2 separate regions of the Homo sapiens genome follow, and region 2 is linked to region 1. Evidence: promoter capture Hi-C in human tissues and cell types (Jung and others, 2019). All regions are on one chromosome and are shown on one strand. The core of a region is centred on a gene start or on the middle of the fragment in contact, and the rest is flanking DNA. Distances in the headings are between cores, read along the strand shown. Region 1 holds the start of DPP9 (dipeptidyl peptidase 9). Region 2 holds the start of ZBTB7A (zinc finger and BTB domain containing 7A).

Region 1 (3,607 bases), core at 562-3,061:
AGGCAGGAGAATCGCTTGAATCCGGGAGGCGGAGGTTGTAGTGAGCTGAGATTGCGCTACTACATTCTAGCCTGGGCAACAGGAGCAAAACTCCATCGGAAGGTAAACACATACACACACAGTTTTTCTTTTCAGAAAGCTCTTTTACAGTGTAGTTGGGGTCGGGCGCGGTGGCTCATGCCTGTAATCCCAGTACTTTGGGAGGCTGCAGGCGGGCGAATCACGTTGAGGTCAGGAGCTGGAAAGCAGCCTGGGCAACATAGTGCAGGCCCTCTAGTCTCTACAAAAAATACAAAAGTTAGCTGGGAGTGGTTGCACACGCCTGTAGTCCCAGCTATAAGGCACCGTCTCTACAAACGCATTTTTTAAAATTCAGCCAGGCGTGGTGGTCCACACCTGTGGTCCAAGCTACCCAGGAGGCTGAGGTGGGAGGATCGCTTGAGCCCAGGAGGTGGAGGCTGCAGGGAGGGATGATCGTACCACTGCACTCGAGCCTAGGCGACAGAACGAGACTCTCTCTAAAAAATACAAAAAACAAAACACACAAAAAAGTAGTTTGATCTAAAGCAAAATGGTGAATATCTGCAGAAACTAATGTGATATCAAGTATAGATTGATATCTATGAGATGAAAAGCTTCATTTGACCCCGGATGGGTTTGTGGGCCGTTTGACGTGCATTGTTTTAATGGAAGGTGGATTTATGATAAAGTGATAAACATGTGTGTGGGTGGGTGGGTGTGTTGGAAAGGGTGTTTATTGGATTTCTTTTTGTCTTCCTTATTTTCCTTCTTTCGGTCTCTACTGTATCAAATACAATAACAGATATTCAGGAAGAGCGGATATTGCTTTAGCTGACTGTAGCCAGTGTTTCTTTGGTGGGACAACGCAACTATCACTGCAACATTATCTCTATAGGAGAATTTAAAGAACCCTGACGCCTACCGGTTTCCGTAGTGTAGCGGTTATCACATTCGCCTCACACGCGAAAGGTCCCCGGTTCGATCCCGGGCGGAAACAGGTCAGCTGTTTTTCCTAACCGGAGAGTAATACTATTTGAAATTCACCGAAAGAACGATTCTAGTCCCATTCTTTCTCTTCCGCCTTCCTCCTGCCTTTTAGACATTTTTATGGGATTTAAAAAAATTTTCCGTGATTGATGGCTCACGCCTGTAATCCCAGCACTTTGAAAGGCCGAAGAGGGCGGATCACCTGAAGTCAGAGTTCGAGACCAGCCTGGCCAAAATGGTGAACCGCCCCCCCCCCCCCACCCCGCCCCACCCCGCCCCACCCCACCCCATCTCTACTAAAAATACAAAAATTAGATGGGCGTGGTGGCGTGCGCTTGTAATCACAGCTACTTGGGAGGCTGAGGCAGGAGAATCGTTTGAACCTGGGAGGTGGTGGTTGCAGTGAGCGGAGATCACGCCACTGCACTCCAGCCTGGGGGACCGAGCGAGACTCCGTCTCAAAACTAAAATGAAAATTTCAAACTCGCAAAAGTGGTACCGCATGCGTTGGCCGGGAATCGAACCCGGGTCAACTGCTTGGAAGGCAGCTATGCTAACCACTATACCACCAACGCCCTGATAGGTAGCATCCTCTCCGGATATCCTTAATAGTGGGGGATCATGGGTTTGACTGAGTGATACCAAGTCACAGGGGGGTGTCTCTCCCTAACCCACCGGAAGATGTCGTTCATGGGGCGTTACGCACCTTAGGCCGCCGCGCCGCGGGCTCCCCCCCAAGCGCCGCGGACGCCTTGGTACGTGCCTGGTGGTGTCCAATCCCAGGCCGCCGCCTGGGTCGCTCAACTTCCGGGTCAAAGGTGCCTGAGCCGGCGGGTCCCCTGTGTCCGCCGCGGCTGTCGTCCCCCGCTCCCGCCACTTCCGGGGTCGCAGTCCCGGGCATGGAGCCGCGACCGTGAGGCGCCGCTGGACCCGGGACGACCTGCCCAGTCCGGCCGCCGCCCCACGTCCCGGTGAGCAGCGCCCGCGCGCCTCGTCCCGCCCCGGCCGCGACCCTGAACCCGCCATTGACCGGCCCCGCCTCGGCCCTGACCCTGCCCTCGCCATCGCCTGGCCTCCCCGCACCCCGGAGCCTCCATGCACCCGTCTGTGGGTCCCTCCGGCCCCCTGCCTCGTTTCCTCTCCGCCCCAGGCCCTCCTCCACCTTCTTTCCCTCCCCGATTCCTGCGCTGGCCAGGCCACCTCCCAGTTTCTCCCCTTCCCTGATGGGCTTCCCCACCCATCCCGTTGCTGCCCAGGCCACCAGGCTCTGACCCCTTCCGGAGGTGGCCGCACCCAAGAACGTCCTCGTAGCTGCAGACCTTGACACCCTCTCCCCTTTCGTGCAGGCTCTGGAGGTCCCGATCTCCTCCCTCTCCCCATGCAAATGCTGTATATGCACAGAGGCCACCTCCCTCGACCTGCATCCTGTCCTCACTCCTTTACCACTTCCTCCAACCTTCGCCCCGAGGCTTGGTCTCCCCAATCCAGTCCTGATCCTCAACCCTACTTGATCCCTCTATTAAGGGTATCCAGAGACTCTTTTTCCTGCCGAGGCGTTGGTGGTGTAGTGGTTAGCATAGCTGTCTTCCAAGGGTCCAGCCCACAGGGTTCAGCCCCCTTCTCTCAGCCTCCCTTCTCAGGCCTGTCCAACCGCCTACCTTCTTCCCACACAGCCTTAGGCCAGCCCTGACACTTCCCTGTTCACGCTGCCTCTGAGCCATCAAAAGTGGTCTATTCCCTTGGCCCCCACCCCCTGGTCTTCCCCAGGGGCCCCAGGAGGAAGTCACTTGCCTCCCAGGCAAGAACCAACCTGCTTTCGAGGAGCTGGGACTAAAGCCCAGGGGGTGTGGACCGTAGGCACCAATCCCTGCATTCCTCTGCTGGGTCCCAGGGGAATCGGGGCCCGTGGGATGGCTTCTCTCCCAGATTCTGTCCAGGGCATGCAGACAGTGCTGCAGGGCTTCAAGGCAGAGCTAGAATCTAGCCAGGTAGAATCGGGCCTGACAGTCTGCAGCTCCTGAGTGGGGGAGGCTGAACGGCTGGCCGGTGCTTCCATTAACCTGCCACATTCATGACATGTTTATCCTATAAAGGTCTGTGTCCCACGCCTGCAGCTGGAATGGAGGCTCTCTGGACCCTTTAGAAGGTCAGTTGTGCTGGGGTTTGGCAGCCAGGAAGGCTGGGGTGTGGGCTGGTGGGATTCCTTTGCCTGCTCTAGAATATAGACATGGGCAGGAAATGGTTTTCTATGGCCCTGGATGGTTGTCCTCCGCAGGGCAGTGGCTGCAGTTTTTTGTGCGCCTGCTGGAGGCTTTTCTTTCCACCCCTGTCCCCCTCTAGCTGCCCCTGGAAGGAGCTTTTTGAAGGCTTTGAGGAGAGGAAGGGGAGAGTGCTGATTTCAGCAGGATTTGGTGGAGGGGTGCCTGGATCCACCTACACTGCCTGACCCGGTCAGTAAATGGTGTGGATTCTGGCCCTGAAAGGACTTTAGTTTGAGTCTCCCCCTTCCTGTGGTTTTGAGTATCTTGTTTAGTTGACAATGCTAGCTGTCATTTAGTTTGTGCTACATCAGACACTGTGTTAAAAGCTGTATGTGTGC
Region 2 (3,964 bases), core at 433-2,932, 660 kb after region 1:
TGGCCTCCTGGTCCCGAGGCTGATGGCCGGTGGTTGAAGGAAGAAGGATTTCTATCCCAGGCAGGGTCCTTGGAGCAAAGTCCCTGGATGACACCCTCGCCCTAGATCCACGCGGCCCCTCCCTGGGTCCCTTCCCACCTACCCGGCTGGTTTCAGGCTGCGAGTCCTGAGACAGTCCACTTCCCCTCCGGGGGGCCCTCCCGGGTTTCCCCTCGTAGCCAGATTATTATTACAAAAGCCAATCCAACCCGTTTGGGTGTTGAAAGGCGCTTTTAATAAATTGTGCGAAGAAGCCATAAACTGTGTCTCTCGCAGGAGAGGCTTTGAAGTCAGAGGACAGGCTGGGTACACTACACCCAGGCCGGTGGTGGTTCCCGCTGTCAGGTGGTGTTGGTACTAAGAATGCCAGATAATAATAAAACATAATAATGACCCTGGGATTAGGTGTTAGAATGAAGGCACAGTGAGCCCCGGAACAGGGTCACCCACTGGATAAGCGCTCACTAAACGGCAGCTAAAGCAGCTGTCAGTACTCTCTCTGTCTGGAGGAATGAGGAAGGGGAAACTGAGTCCTGGAGCCCTCCCCCCCCCCCCCAGGCGCGCGGTCGCACCAGCCAGCCCTCCCCGGGCCGGGCCAGGACGTTCTCACCACTCGTGCCCTGCTCCCCCTTCCCTGTCCCCCGCCGGACCTCTCCCACGACCGGGGAGGAAGTGGGAGAAACGGACAGGGGAAAAAAAAAAGTCGCGCTGAACCAACGCCTCCCCACTCCCCACCTCCGCCCCTCGCGAGCCATGCAGACCCCCTTGTGCCAAGGAGCGGCCCGCGCGGACCAGGCGTCCAGGGCCCGGTCCCCGTCCCGCCCCGCGGCCCGCAGCCGGGTGGGGGAACTCGCGAAGCCGGGAAAACAACCGCCCTCCCCGCCCCTCGCCAACCCCTTCCCCCGCTGACGCCCCTAGCGCAGCGGGGTGGAGGCGACTCCTTTATATAATCGCGGGAGGGCAGGTTGGTGGTTTCATTTAGGGACCCGGGAGCCCCGCGGACCCGGGCTGTCCTTGGCAAGGCCACCCCCCGGGGTCCCTGGCGCGGCAAGTCCCACTGAGGCCCGGGGAGGCCCAGGGCCTGGCCTTGCGGGGGGATCCCCACCGCCTCACCCCCAACCCACCCCCGGCAGCCCAGGCCGCGCGACCCACACGCCCGCGTCGCTCCTCGCTGTGCGCACCGCGCTCCCCGCCCCCGCTGCCATCCTGCCACGCCCCGGGCGTCGGGGGCACAGCCCGCGCCCCCCCGCACCCCGCCCCTGCGCAGAGGCTGGGGGCCTGTTTATCTGGAGGCCCCCACCCCCCCTCCACCCCGGGGGGCCCGCTCCCCCCGCGCCCCGGGGAGCTCTGGGGCCAGATAAGCTGGCAAGCTGGCACGGCGCCGCGCGGCGGGGCGGAGAGGTCAGAGGCGGGGGGGCGCGCCGGGGCGGGCCGGACCCCCCCCCCCGACTTGACAAAACCTAATAACAGCCCGGTCTCCCCGGCGCAGCGGGCGAAGCCCCACGGGAGGGCAGAGACGTGGCAAGAGGGGACCTGCCGAGCCTGTTCTGGCCTCCGAGGCCAGGCTGGGGGGGGCGGGCTGGGCGTGGGGGGGCCGGCGGCTGCGGCACCTTTAAGACAAGGGAGGACCCCTCTTGCCCTCGGAGAAACCAGGAAGGGAGTCGCGAGCATCATACGGGGCTTTGGCTGTACTGTACAGTTACTGTAGGGGCAGTGACGCCGCCGCCGCCGCGCGAGGGAGCGACCAGGGCAGCGCGACGCGGGCAGAGCGAGCGCCGCGGACCCCGGAGGCGAGCGGCCGAGGGAGCCCAGTCCCAACTTCGGGCCCCGGCCCCGCGCGCCCCGGCCCGGCCCCGCGAGGTAAGTCAGCGCCCGGCGCGGCCCCCGGCACGGGGTGCAGGGCGGGGACGGGCGGGGGTCGCTGCGGCCACCGCTGCCCCCTCGGGAAGGGGAGATCCGGGGAGCCGGGGACGTTCCCCCAAGTTTCAGAGGAAGGGGTGGTTGGCAGCTGCCCGGAGGCTGGAGGCGCCCTGGATCCCGAGCGCGGGGAGGGGGCGCCGCCCGGGAAGGGGGGATTGGGGGCTAAGTGCATGAGCTTGTGCGCCAGCCCCCCCCAACCCGGGTGCATGGCTTTTCGGGGCTCCCAGGCGCGCGGGGAGCGGGGGAGGGGAAGCAGGGCTGCATTGAGGGTGGGGGGAGCCGGCGTGGGGAGATAGGGGGGCGCGTCGCCTGCTAAGTTTCCAGCTGAAGACGAGGGGCGCTCTCGCCCCCCGGGGGCCTATTCGGTGCTGCGTGCATACGTTGGAGTTGGCCAGGATTGAGCTCCATGGGGGATGGGGGGGAGGGGGCTGAAAAAACAGGGAGGGGGGCTTCGGAAAGGAGGGGGAAGGGGTGGGGTGTCCGGGTGGGCGGGCAGGGCCGCAGGGACCTCTGGGCTTCGTAGTCCCTCCGCCGTTTGCAGCCGGCAGGTGGCAAGCGGCTTGGACTACAAGTCCCAGGGTGCCCCGCGCCGACAGCCCGCCGCGGCCTGCGGGTAGGGGCGGTGCGGAGGAGGGGCGGTGAGCGGCGGGCCGGAGAGCCAATGGGCGCGGGCCGATCGCGCGGCGCGGCGCGGGGGCGGGGCCAGCCCGCCAGGGGGCGGGGCCTGGAGCCGGGCTCCCCTCGCCGGGGGCCGGTGGCGGTCCCGGCTTCCGGCTGCGCGGCCCGCGGGCCGGCCCCCTCCCCGCCCCGGGGCCCCTCCCCGCCTGGTTGTGTAACCGTCCCCAGCCCCCCTCCCCTCGGCCCCCCGCCCGTGGGGGGGGGGTCACCCTCCCCGCGCTCCCCGGGGAGGGCGGCGGCCCGGGCGGCCGCGCGGTGCAGGCGAGCCCGGGGATGCGCGGCCTAGCGCAGGCCGGGCCCGGGCGTGGGGGAGGCGGGCGGGCGGACCCAGATCCGGGGTAATTTGCATCGCCCTCCCCCCAGCCCGGGTGGGGATTGGCCGCCGGCGGCGGGGGGTGGCGCGGGGCCAGGCTCACTGCCGCCTCCCGGCCCCTCGGAGGGAGCCAGCCCAGCCGCAGCCGCCGCCACCGCCGCCGCCGGGGCCGGGCCCCCTCGCCGCTGCCCCGGGAAGGAGGTAGGAGCCCCCCGCGCGGGCGAGGCGGCGGGGGACCGCGGGCCGGGCGGGGGCCGCGCGCTGCGGCCGGGGCGGGGGAGGGGGCCGCTTCCTGCCCCCGCCCGGGCCTGACTCAGCCCCGGGTGGGGGGCCTGGCCTGGCCCCTCGCCCTGCCCGGACGGCCGTCCGGCTCCGACCCGCGGGAGGGGGCGGAGAGAGCACCCCAGTCCCCGCCGTCCGCGCCCCCAAAGCGCGTGACCCCGTCTCCTCTGGCCCGGACCCCCCCTCCTTTCCCTTGACGCCACCACCACGTGCGAAGCCTGAGCCCGGGCAGGGGAGGGGGGAGCTGGTGGGATCCAGCCCCCTCCCTCCCGCTCCCTACCTCCCGGGCGGGAGACCCAGCCCCCCCGGCCTGGGAGCCTGGCTGGGGGCTGAGCGGAGCGGAGGAGCGGGTGCCCCCCCAGGGACCGGGCCTCTGCGGGTTCTGGGAGGCGCTGCCCGGGCTGGCTGGCGGGGGCGCACGGTGGGCCGCGGCGGGAGGTTGCTGTCCACCCGGGCCCGGACACCCAGTCGGCGCCCACTAAATGTTGGCGGAATGCAGCCAGGAGTTGGCGGCGAGGCGGGGGGAGGCAGCAACTCCTCTCCCCCCAGTCAGGCGGCGGAAGTCACAGAGGTGCTGGTGCCCCTGCCACCCGCGGCACCCACCTGGCTCACCCATGGGTGGCGGGCTCGGTGGGCCCCCCCACCTCCCTGCCAGCTGCCTCCGGAGAGGGCGTGGGGATTCCGTGTCAGTGCCCCCCGCCCCAACCTCAGAACTGGACCAGGGCGTAACCC

Evidence for each region. Contacts are between HindIII fragments. The study calls those that stand out against the background at their distance.
Region 2: the fragment with the promoter of ZBTB7A here is called in contact with the fragment with the promoter of DPP9 in region 1 in 1 of the 25 tissues and cell types used here (pancreas).

What each region holds. Positions count from the first base shown.
Region 1 is chr19:4,722,046-4,725,652 of GRCh38, reverse strand. DPP9 (dipeptidyl peptidase 9) reads left to right here and starts at 1,811. Exons shown (of 22, transcript NM_139159.5): 1 at 1,811-1,979; 2 at 3,102-3,154. It overlaps TRG-TCC1-1 (tRNA-Gly (anticodon TCC) 1-1), which reads right to left and starts at 1,583; the gene lies at 1,512-1,583. TRV-CAC3-1 (tRNA-Val (anticodon CAC) 3-1) reads left to right here and starts at 946; the gene lies at 946-1,018. LOC105372250 (a long non-coding RNA gene) reads right to left here and starts at 2,773. Exons shown (of 3, transcript XR_936274.2): 1 at 2,667-2,773; 2 at 944-1,033; 3 at 66-518. RefSeq lists silencers at 891-1,090, 1,541-1,630, 1,861-2,010. The HindIII fragment of the contact is 28,361 bases long and covers 1-3,607 here.
Region 2 is chr19:4,064,617-4,068,580 of GRCh38, reverse strand. It overlaps ZBTB7A (zinc finger and BTB domain containing 7A), which reads left to right and starts at 1,682. Exons shown (of 3, transcript NM_015898.4): 1 at 1,682-1,899. RefSeq lists silencers at 832-1,161, 1,222-1,331, 1,542-1,601, 1,642-1,691, 1,702-1,901 and 3 more. The HindIII fragment of the contact is 23,363 bases long and covers 1-3,964 here.